Linked DNA regions of Homo sapiens: region 2 is linked to region 1. The links are contacts of gene promoters, found by promoter capture Hi-C in blood cells and fetal thymus (Javierre and others, 2016). All regions are on one chromosome and are shown on one strand. Each heading gives the region's core, a stretch centred on a gene start or on the middle of the fragment in contact. The rest is flanking DNA. Distances are from core to core; before and after follow the strand shown. Region 1 holds the start of NARS1 (asparaginyl-tRNA synthetase 1). Region 2 overlaps TXNL1 (thioredoxin like 1).

Region 1 (5,552 bases), core at 464-2,963:
CCCGGACTTGGTTCATATTCTTGATGGGCCCTGAACCTATATATAGAGTTATTTTTTTGAGGACCTCTCATAAAAAAAAGGTTTTCTTTTGCTTCAGGGACAAACTCTGGTATTCCACTAAATTGAGAATGGGCTGGGCGTGGTAGCTCACGCCTGTAAGACCAGCACTTTGGGAGGCTGAGGCAGGAGGATCACTTGATCCCAGAAGTTGGAGACCAGCCTGGGCGACACAGGGAGACCCCTCCCCCATCTCCACAAAAATAAAAATAAAATAAGCCAGGCGTGGTGGCGTGCACCTATAGTCCCAGCTACTTGGGAGGCTTAAGTGGGAGGCTCACTTGAGCCCAGGAGTTCGAGGCTGCCGTGAGCTATGATAGCACCACTGCACTCCAGCCTGAGCAACAGAGAAGACCCAGTCTCCAAAAAAAAAAAAAGCCCACCAAAAAAGTAAAAAAAAGTTGAAAATGATGACAGACCCTTTATTAGCACCTCTTACATGCCCGGGCAGTGAATTTATATCATCTTTCACAAATAGAAAAACTGAAGCTCATTCAGATTAGGTAATTTATCTGAAGACACAGATAAACCCCTCTCAGCGCCTGACTCTCGGCGCAATCGGGATGTTTCGCAGCGGGGCAGGGGCAGGGGCCGGAGCCACCGCCATCGCAGCCCGGGGAACAACGGACTCGGGGAAGCCCGGCCTGGCCCTTCAAGTCCCGGGCCCAGCAAGGGCCAGGACCCTCCCTCCCTCCCTGCAATCGGTCCCAACTCGCTGAATGAAGCTCATTCAGTTTAGGTAATTTATCTGAAGACACACGGTTAGTAAAAGGCAGAACCCAGGTTTGTATTCCGAAGCCCTCGTTCTTTCCACCACATTATTATGGCCTTCCTAACGGTAATCCTTACAATTTTAAATGAACATATACCATAGCTCCTCTCCTGAACACCGAGGGACGCTGGCTCACGGAGTTTAGAAAGTTAACGCATCTGGCCGGGCGCGATGGCTCACGCCTGTAATCCCAGCACTTTGGGAGGCCGAGGTGGGCGGATCACAAGGTCAGGAGTTCGAGACCAGCTTGACTAAGATGGTGAAACCCCGTCTTTACTAAAAATACAAAAATTAGCTGGGCATGGTGGCACAGGCCTGTAATCCCAGCTACTCGGGAGGCTGAGGCAGAAGAATCGCTTGAACCCGGGAGGTGGAGGGTGCGGTGAGCCGAGATCGCGCCACTGCACTCCAGCCTGGGTGACAGAGCGAGACTCCGTCTCAAAAAAAAAAAAAAAAAAAAGGAAGTTTACGCAACCCGCTGCGTCCCCTCCACCGCCGCGCACCCCGTCTCGCAGCTGGCGCGGTGTTTGCTGGTGACATGAACTCAACCAGCCTCCACCATCTGGGGATCGGGGCGACATCCTTGGTCTGGTTTGCAAGAGGACCCGCACGCCTCCAGCTGGGGCGGAATTGGAAGATTCAGAAAGGAAAGTTGGGGAGGCGGGGAAGGAAGGGTGCAAAAGTGACACTGTGCCAGGGTCTCCAGGGCCGCGGAGCTCCGGGACAGGCAGCGCCTTCCGAGCTGCACAAACGCGTGGGGCGGGGCGTCTCTGGATCCGGAAGTTGCCTCTGCCCTCACCAAAGATGGCGGCCCCGGCGCCGCTCGCCCACCTCTCGTAACCAATGGAACCGCGGCGCTCGGCCGATTCTCGCAGGCGCCCTCAGATCTACGCTCTCTGATGCAACGCCGGAATCGCGGAAACCGCCGGTGCACGTTGGAGTCATAAGACGGCGTCGGTGTTGCAGTCTGTGTCCTTGGAGGTGACCAGGGCCACTGCAGGCATGGTGCTAGGTGGGTGAGACTCAGTGTATGGCGCGGTGTTCCCTGCCTGGGGCAGGAACTCTGCTCCAGTCGGGTTTCGGCGCTTTCCTTAGTGCCTACCAGAGTGGGCGCCCCGCGAATGTTTGGGGACCGATTGCAGGGAGGGAGGGAGGGAGGGTGCTGGCCTTTGCTGGGCCCGGGACTTGAAGGGCCAGGCCGGGCTTCCCCGAGTCCGTCGTTCCCCCGGGCTGCGATGGCGGTGGCTCCGGGCCCTTCCCCTGCCCCGCTGCGAAACCTCCCGATTGCGCTGAGACTCAGGCGCTGGGACGGGTTCAGACACAGGGTAGCCCCTACTCCTGCAGTTCTTCAAAGTGATCGTCAGGAAGGGGCTTTAGGATTCTAGTTGTTTTTCTCCCACCCTCATTTTTTTATTGAGGTTTCCGGGGAGACCATACTGTGCAGTAGGAAAAAAAAAAAAAAAAAGAGAGAGACCTGGATGGATGTTAACTGTTCAGACCTACTAGTTGTGAGGCCTTCTGAAATTTTCTAACCTCAGAGCTTCTGTTTCCTTTAAAGTCCAGAGGGAGCTGGTGTTTATTTGCCATCTCTACAAAAACTGGCACTGGGATATCTGATTTGTATGTGTTATTTTATTTCATCCTCAGCACAGCCTTTCAAGATGGGGATTGTTTTTCCTATTTTATAGGTAAAGAAATAAGCTCAGAAAGGTTAAGTAAATTCTCCAGAGTCACCCTGCCTTTTAAGGTACAAAATCCAACATTCCAGCGTATGTCTGATCAACTTCAAAGCCCATATTTTATTTTTGGGTGCCCAATTAGATAGAATAAATATCACAAATTAAAATGATCAGAGTTCATTTTGAAAACCTGGATTATTAACTAATGTTTTTATGAGATGGATGTTATTGAAATGGAGTGGGGAAATAACTAGGATATTAATTACTTATGGACCTCAATTTTTATTAATCGATGCTTGTTCTGTTTACAAAGATAAGGAATGAATAAAGTAGTAAGGTGACTAATAGTTAATGGCCAGACCATAACTTACCCTCATTTTGTCAAACAGCAGAGCTGTACGTCTCTGACCGAGAGGGAAGCGATGCCACGGGAGATGGAACCAAGGAGAAACCATTTAAAACAGGTCTAAAGGTAGAGTCTCTTCTCATTAGGAAAATGAGACTGCATTTATTAATGAGTTATGTCAATTTTCTTGTGACTTGCCAAGAACTTAATTTCAAACACTAGGTTCCAAAGAGAATTTTCAGAAAAGGGAAAGTAAGGAATGCATACAGATATGTGACTTTAAGATTGTTAGATGATCAAAGTCTAAACTTACTTTTTAACATTTTGAAAAAAGGTCTCTTCTTTCTTACCACATGGCATTGCTTCTTGGAATTTTTCTCTCCATTGAGTCAGATTGCTGGGTTTTCAATTCTTGTAAAGATAAAAGTTACCTTTCCTCAGTTACAGTGAGCTCATGACCAGGGGGCTCCTGAGAGGGCTTTTGGTGAATTTACCACAATCCAGAGTGTGATCCTGAGATTTGACTCCAAGACCACCAAGAATGGATTCATTTGTCAGAGCTGACTCATGAGTCTGGAGCTTCAAGCTAGAATGCCAATTTATTAACATTCTGTTAATGAATTAACAGTGCTGTTATTTCTCAGGATCTAGAATCCTTGAATGAGTTTAGCTCATTCTCAAAGGGGTTTGTCAAGAGCTTGGACTCAGGCCTGGTGTGGTGGCTCACGCCTATAATCTCAACACTTTGGGAGGCCGGGGCAGGTGGATTGCTTCAGCGCAGGAGTTTGAGACCAGCTTGGGCAACTTGGTGAAATCCTGGCTCTACAAAAAACATAAAAATTAGCCCAGCATGGTGGTGCGTGCCTGTGGTCCCAGCTACTCCGGAGACTGAGGTGAGGATTTCTTTAGCCTGGAAGGTGGAGGTTGCAGTGAGCCACCATTGCGCCACTGCACTCTAGCCTGAGACCCTGTCTCAGAAGAAAAAACAAAAAAAGGGCTTGGACTCACAACATGGGTGTTAGGTAGTTGATTATATCAGAGTAAAGTGTGGCCTAAGACAACCTTCTTAAAATAGACCATGGACTTAGCTGTTGAACTCATATGCTAGAATCCATTGGCTATAACTGCCACATAAGGAAGATGGTTAAAAGTTCCTTCCTTGGGTCTGGGCTTTGGTGCCTCACGTTTGTAATCCCAGCACTTTGGGAGGCTGAGGCTGGAGGACTGCTTGAGCCCAGGAGTTTGAGAACAGCCTGGGCAACATGATAAGACCCTCATCTCTACAAAAAATTTAACTTCTTAAAAATTTTTTAATAAATTTAATTTAAAAAATAAATAGAGACAGGATATTAACCCTCCCAAAGTGCTGGGTTTATAGGAGTGAGCCATCACACTCAGCCAACTACCAAAAAAAAAAAAAAAAAAAAATTAGCCAGGCATGGTGGTATGGTATGCACCTGTGGCCCCAGCTACTCGGGAGACTGAGATAGGGGGATTACTTGAGCCCAGGAGGTTGAGGCTGCAGTGAGCCGTGATTGCATCACTGCTCTGCAGCCTGGACGACAACAACAAAAAAGTTCCTTCTTTGAACTGTATTAGGAAAAGCAGTGCCTTGACACTCCTTTTTCTGTGCATCCCCTTTTTTTGTTAACTGTGTTACAACATTTATAGTTACTATCAAGTCCTAATCTGGGAGCATTCTCCTCTCTTTTAGGTCATACCATATGGTTATAAACTTTGGTGTGTCATACATGGGTACTTGTTTTTAATTTAACTTATTTATTTATTTTTCTGAGACAGGATCTTAATTTGTTGCCCAGGCTGGAGTGCAGTAGCGCATTCATGGCTCACTGCAGCTTCAACCTCCTGGGCTTAAGGGATCCTCCCACCTCAGCCTTCCAAGTAGCTCGGACCACAGGGGCATGTCACCACACGCGGTTAATTTGTTTCTTATTTGTAGATACGAGATCTCATTATGTTTCCCAGGCTGGTCTTAAACTCCTGGGCTTAAGCAATCCTGCTGCCTTGGCCTCCCAAAGTGCTGGGGCTACAGGTGTGAGCCGCCACTCCTGGCTGGGTTTTACTTTTTAACCACTCTTAAGGGGAAATCTTTCATTTCTGGATTATCGGGTGCCTCGTTTTGCAGCTCCTGAAAACTGACAACACCGTTTAGATGAACGTTTGCAGAATGTCACTGTTAACAACAGAATGTCACTGTTAACAAAAGTGTAGCATTCTGATTTGGGAACTGATAGTTTGGCTCTTTCAATTTCAATGATACAAAAGGAGGGATCAGTACAGATTGTCGGGTAATAAGTGAATTCCGAACGACCTACATGTATTCATGGGACCTTCTCTCTTGGTTTTGCATTTTCATCAATGGCTATCTTTTTTTTTTTTTTTTTGAGACAGAGTTTTGTTCTTGTTGCCCAGGCTGGAGTGCAGTGGCATGATCTCGGCTCACTGCAACCTCTGCCTTCTGGGTTCAAGCAATTCTCCCTGCCTCAGCGTCCTGAGTAGCTGGGATTATAGGCACTCGCCACCATGCCTGGCTAATTTCTTTTTTTTTTTTTTATTTCTAGTAGAGATGGTGTTTCACCGTGTTGGCCAGGCTGGTCTCGAACTCTTGAGCTCAGGTGATCCACTCACCTCGGCCTCCTAAAGTGCTGGGATTACAGGCGTGTGCCACTGCGCCTGG
Region 2 (6,080 bases), core at 2,700-5,199, 1.0 Mb after region 1:
TCATATTGATATGTACGGAAAGTATAAAATACAGATCAGATTTTAAAGACAGTATAAAAAATGTAAAATATTGCATTATCTTTTTATGTTGATTAGATTGAAAATGGATATATTAGATTTCCTGTAATATTAAACTTGATTTTACTTATTTTGCTTTTTTAATATAGATAATAGAAAATTTACAATTGCATGTGTAGCTCACATGTGCTACATATCCATTGTTTTGGGCAGCACTTTCCTGAAAGGTCATAGTTTTTTCACCTAGAGGCTTTGAGAAGACATTCCTGTGTTATCTTTATGTTCTTTTTCTTTAAAAAGTATAGTAGTGACTTTCATAATATTTGAATATATAAGGTGCCATATTTGCTTTACTGTTTCCTTTATACTTGTCATGAAAAGCTTAAACTAGGATACTCGGTGGTTATTAGGTAATTTCCATTCAGTAGTTAGTCTTATACAATTGTGGAGCTAGGACAGAATTTATAAAGATAGCTGTTAGAATGTGTTTTGATGGGTGACCAAAAGTCATTTCTGTAAGAATAAAAATTGGGTGACGGTTGCAGTGCAAAATACATTACATGCTCTTTTTAACAGGCAGATTGGCTACCGGTTTTCAGACCTGCACTTTTTTCTAGTAGCAGTGGTTTGTGTTGACTTTATCAATACCCTTCTTGGTTATTCTTTTTGAGAAATACCTGTAATTATGAAAGATCTGTCTGGCATTAAGCACAGTTTCTGCATTGGAAGCTAATTTTTCTACTGGATGATGTATTTACCAGTAAAAATGATAAAAACATGGGGAATGTTCTTTATTGTGTGTGTGATGGTAATGTAGCTATGCCCAAAGGGGAACTCTCTTAGGAATAGGTCTATTTTTTCCTTAAATAACAAAAATGCAGTATTTTACATGTTTTTAGTTCATGCTTATGGTATTTAACTTCCATAAAGGTGTAGAATGAATATTCAAAGTGGTTTAAGATTTAATTCATAACACTGTCCAACTTGCCAATTCTAGGGAACAGCTGCCACCAACAATATATCAGCAACACCTACATTTTTGTTTTTTCGAAACAAAGTGAGAATTGATCAATATCAAGGAGCAGATGCTGTGGGATTAGAAGAAAAAATCAAGCAGCACTTAGAAAATGACCCTGGAAGCAATGAGGACACAGATATTCCAAAAGGCTATGTATGTAGACTGAAAAGTGAAATCATAATGTATAATATCTTGTACATGTCATTATTGGGCTAAAATGAAATATAACTATGTTTCCATCTTCTATCTCTTACTGGTTTAGAATACTTTTAAATAAGAGCTTTCAAATTTATTAGCTGACTATTGAGTTTTGTCTGTATGTGTACGTTTGTGTGTGTGTTAAGCCTCTATCATAAATCATTTTTCCTAAATTTCTCCTAATTTTCTTTGCCACTTTTTAAAAATCTGCTTTCTGAACTATTTTAATAGCCATTTAAAAATACTTGCTTTATACTTTTTTTTCCAGAAAATGTAGAAATGTGCATTAGAAATTTTTTTTTCACTTTTTGACAGTTATGTAAAATGACTTACAGGTTTTAGTTATGGCCATTAACTCCTTTTACTGTCACTCACTTCCTATAGTTTTATCTTTTTAAATGTATGCCCTCTTTTCTGGCACTGTATTTAAAAAAAAAAAAAAGTCTAATTACTGATTTTGTTTTAGAATCAAATTTGACTTTGTTATCACATGTATTCTAGGTTTTAAGAGTAAGTTATTTCAAATAACAACATAAAGACTTAAGAATCTAAAGGATAGTGTGTGGAAACTGCAGAGTATAAATAGTTAGAATGCAGCATTTTTAATTTGAGAGCTATTCAAGAAGGAAGCAAAATTTGGAAGTAGCACTTCATGGTATTAGATTTGCTTATACAAATAGGTAAATCTTGTATACTAAGAGATATATATAGTTTTTAATTTCTCTGGTTACAAAGTTACTGCACTGGCAGATCAAAGAATGAATTTTAAAAAAAGTTACCTCAAGTTAAAGTTAATATCTTTTTTTTTTTTTTTTTTGAGGCGGAGTCCCTCTGTCACCCAGGCTGGAGTGCAGTGGCACGATCTCAGCTCACTGCAACCTCCACCTCCAGGGTTCAAGCTATTCTCCTGCCTCAGCCTCCCCAGTAGCTGGGATTACAGGCACCTGCCACCATGCCCAGCTAATTTTTGTATTTTTCGTAGAGACGAGGTTTCACCATGTTGGCCAGGCTGGTCTCGAACTCCTGACCTCAGGTGATCCACCTGCCTTGGCCTCCCCCAAAGTGTTGGGATTACAGGCGTGAGCCACTGCACCTAGCCAAAGCTAATATCTTAAACAATGTATAACAGGCATATTAAAGCAGATCTGTGTCATGGAGCTACAAGTCCTCCCTGTAAGTCTAAATTCATGCCGAATGAAGAGATGCTATAGTCCAAAAAAAAAAATGAGAGATTCTTTCTATATGGGTGTGTAGTAGGAGATTGTAAGGGTGTCAGAAAGCATCAGTAATGTGATACCAGCATTAATTTAAGGAAGTACAATTACTATTTATTTAAAATAGACCTGTAATTTGAAATTGTAATGTCCAATTAGGAAGTATCAACATATCGTTTATGTCAGGGTTGTTACATCTTTTGGACAGTTTTGGAAATCATTTAACTTGTAAACCATTGTGTTTATATCTTTGTATTTTTTTCCCTTTATTACTAAGGGTGTTTGCATTAAAAAGTCTTAGGAACACAGCAGTCTTGTTGCCTAGCTACAGGCATACTTCTTTACACATCCGCTGTGGTATGAGTGTTTTGGCCTCAGATAGGAAATAGGAAAAAATGAAGTTTTAAGAAATAAAAATTTAGTTTTTGTGCAAATGTTATGGATAAAATATGAAAAGCTGTTATTTTTAAATGTCCCTTTTTTTCTGTCAGGTGTCAATCAAGACATTAAAGTTTTGAACTATTTAGGTCTCACAGGGTTATTCAGTATTTAAATTTGGTAATCTTATATAACGATGATACCATTATAACTCCCAAGAAATTTAATATTGATACAATATTTCTAATTATCCTACAGTTAAATTTTCTTAATTATCCCCAAAATATTCTTTATGGCTGTTTCCCACCATTTAGGATCAAATCAAGGATCATGCATTGCATTTAAGTTGTCCTAATTAATGTTCTTTAGTCTAGAAACTTTTCTCTGCCTTTTTTTTCTGTCATGGTTTTCCATTTTGAAAGTCTAAACCAGCACTGGTCTAGTAATATGGTAGCCACTAGGCACACTTGTCTATTGAACATTTTGTTATATGACTAGTGCAACTGAGGAACTTAATATTTAATTTTATCTAATTTTAATTAATTTAATTTTAAATTGCCACATGTGGCTAATGAGTATCATATTGAATAGCATGGGTCTAGGCTGTTTTATTTAATTAATTTTTTTTTTTTTTTTTTTTGAGATGGAGTTTCACACTTTTGTCTAGGCTGGCGTGAAGTGGCATGATCTGCAACCTCCACCGTCCCCCTGGCCCCTGCCCCTGCCGCTCGTTTGAAGCAGTTCTGCCTCGGGCTCCCAAGTAGCTGGGATTATAGGTGCCCACCACCACACCCAGCTACTTTTTGTATTTTTAGTAGAGAGGGGGTTTCACCATGTTGGCCAGGCTGGTCTCAAACTCCTGACCTCAGGTGATCCACCTGTCTCAGCCTCCCAAAGTGCTAGGATTACACGTGTGAGCCACTGCACCTAGCTAGGATATCTGTTTTATAGACTGTTGCGTATTCTGGATTAACCTGATTATTTTCCCATGATTGGCATGTTGATTATAAAGGTAGCAACATTTATTTCTCATTGCAGGTTTTCAGAATATGTCAGTTTCCAGTTATGTCAACTATGCAATGTAATAATGCCAGTTTGTCCCAGACAGTTTTTATAACAAAATACTTTAATGCACCCCTTTAAATATGTTTTGTGGGCTGGGCGTGTGGTGGCTCACGCCTGTAATCCCAGCACTTTGGGAGGCTGAGGCGGGTGGATCACCTGAGGTCAGGAGTTCAAGACCAGCCTGGCCAACATCAGAAACCCCATCTCTACCAAAAATACAAAAATTAGCCAGGTGCAGTGGCACACTGCTGTAGTCCCAGCAACTCGGGAGGCTGAAGCAGAATTGCAGGAGGCGGAGGTTGCATTGAGCCAAGATTGCGCCACTGCAACTCCAGCCTGGGCAACAGAGGGAGACTTTGTTTCAAAAAAAAAAAAAAAAAATACATATATATGTTTTGTGTGCCCCACAATAAATAAAAACAAAAACTATTTAGAAGAATTTACCCACTTAGTTTATTTTTATCATTTAGGTATTGCAAGTCTGACTGTAATGTTGTCTTAATCCTAGATACCATATTGAAGTGACATATAGATAGGATGGAAGACAAAAACATTTTAAAGATTTTGTCAAAACTGCCCTTTTAAGGCAAATGTTCATAATGCTCCGAATAATTCTGCTATAGTAAAACTTTGCTCTGTAGCCCTTTTTTCTTCCCTCCCCATCTTTTAAATTGGCTATACGTTACCCTGAGTAATACATTTACTATAACATTTCAGCTTTGAAAGCATTTAGGCTGTTTTATCTGTAACTAGAGGTCTATACTAATGATTATTACCATTTTCATATTTACTTGACATACAAAGTTTTCTTCAGTCTTTGAGAATTATGTATGTATGTATTTGTATCTTTAAAAAACATAATGAAAACCCTTTGAGATAGAGAGGTGAACATGTGACTCATCTATAATACTTGGTAGACTTGAAAAGTAATCCTTGTTTAGGAGATAAAATGGATACTTTTCTAGAAAAATACACTTTTACCAAAATCAACTCTACTAGAAGCAGAACACCTAAATAGACCAGCACCATAGAGAAATAGAAGAAATAGTAGTAAAGATTTCTTCCCTAAAGGCTTCTATGACTTTACAGGTAAATGTTGCCAAATCCGTATAAAGATCAGGTAATCTACTGTTACTGTAACTACTTAAGATCTTAAGTAAAAAGAAAACTTTTAAATTTATTTTTGAACTGTGACATTGATCTGATAATTTGACAAAGTATGCACCAAAAAAGAAAGCTGCAGACCAGTTTCAATTATGAATATTGATGTAAAATTTTTAAATAAAGTGTTAGTAAACAAAATTCAATAATATCATCATGGGCTGGGTGTGGTGGCTCATGCCTGTAATCCCAGCACTTTGGGAGGCTGAGGTGGGTAGATCACTTGAGGCCAGGAGTTGGAGACCAGCCTGGCCATTGTGAAAGCCCATCTCTACTAAAAATACAAAAAGTAGCCAGACATGGTGGCACACGCCTGTAATCCCAGCTACTCAGGAGACTGAAGCAGGAGAATCACTTGAACCCGGGAGGTGGAGGTTTCAGTGAGCCAAGATAACACCACTGTACTCCAGCCTGGGCGACAGAGTGAGAATGTCTCAAAAAAATAATAATAATAATAATAACAAAATTGAGTTTTTTTAAAGCATGTAAGAGTTGTTTATGTTAGGAAATTTACTTAATCTGTCACATTAATAGACCTAAGGAGAAAAATCATGATCTCCAAATATGCAGAAAAGGCATTTGACAAAATTTAAATACCCCTTTATTCCTAAAGCATTCAGTAAAATCTTAATAAGGGAACATTGGAAGCATTCCTACTAAAGTCAGAAATAAGACAAGCATGACCAACCGCTGTTAACACAACTCTGATGTGTGGGAGGTATGGAAGTGTTAGAATAAAGTATACAGAGATGGGCATGTGCTGACACCACAGGGAAGTAAACGGTAAAATCCAAAGTATTGAGAAATCTATAAGCTAAATGACTAGATTAAAAGAGATTTCAGAGACATATTAACCAAATACAATTTTTTTTTTTTTTTTTTTTTTTGGAGACAGAGTCTTGCTCTGTCCCCAGGCTGGAGTGCAGTGGTGTGATCTCGGCTCACTGCAACCTCCGCCTCCCAGGTTCAAGAAGTTCTCCTGCCTCAGCTTCCCGAGTAGCTGGGATTATAGGTGCCCGCCACCATGC

The links. Contacts are between HindIII fragments. The CHiCAGO score rates a contact against its expected background, and 5 or more counts as called.
Region 2: a fragment that was not itself captured here is called in contact with the fragment with the promoter of NARS1 in region 1 in 5 of 17 cell types (naive CD4 T cells, non-activated CD4 T cells, total CD4 T cells and 2 more); the score reaches 8.4 in naive CD4 T cells.

What each region holds. Positions count from the first base shown.
Region 1 is chr18:57,617,997-57,623,548 of GRCh38, reverse strand. NARS1 (asparaginyl-tRNA synthetase 1) reads left to right here and starts at 1,713. Exons shown (of 14, transcript NM_004539.4): 1 at 1,713-1,841; 2 at 2,898-2,980. The coding sequence starts at 1,832. RefSeq lists enhancers at 1,440-1,779, 1,160-1,864. The HindIII fragment of the contact is 17,897 bases long and covers 1-5,552 here.
Region 2 is chr18:56,619,397-56,625,476 of GRCh38, reverse strand. TXNL1 (thioredoxin like 1) reads left to right here. Exons shown (of 8, transcript NM_004786.3): 3 at 1,016-1,189. Among named protein-coding and RNA genes, the nearest start is that of TXNL1, 16 kb to the left of the region's middle. The HindIII fragment of the contact is 7,096 bases long and covers 402-6,080 here.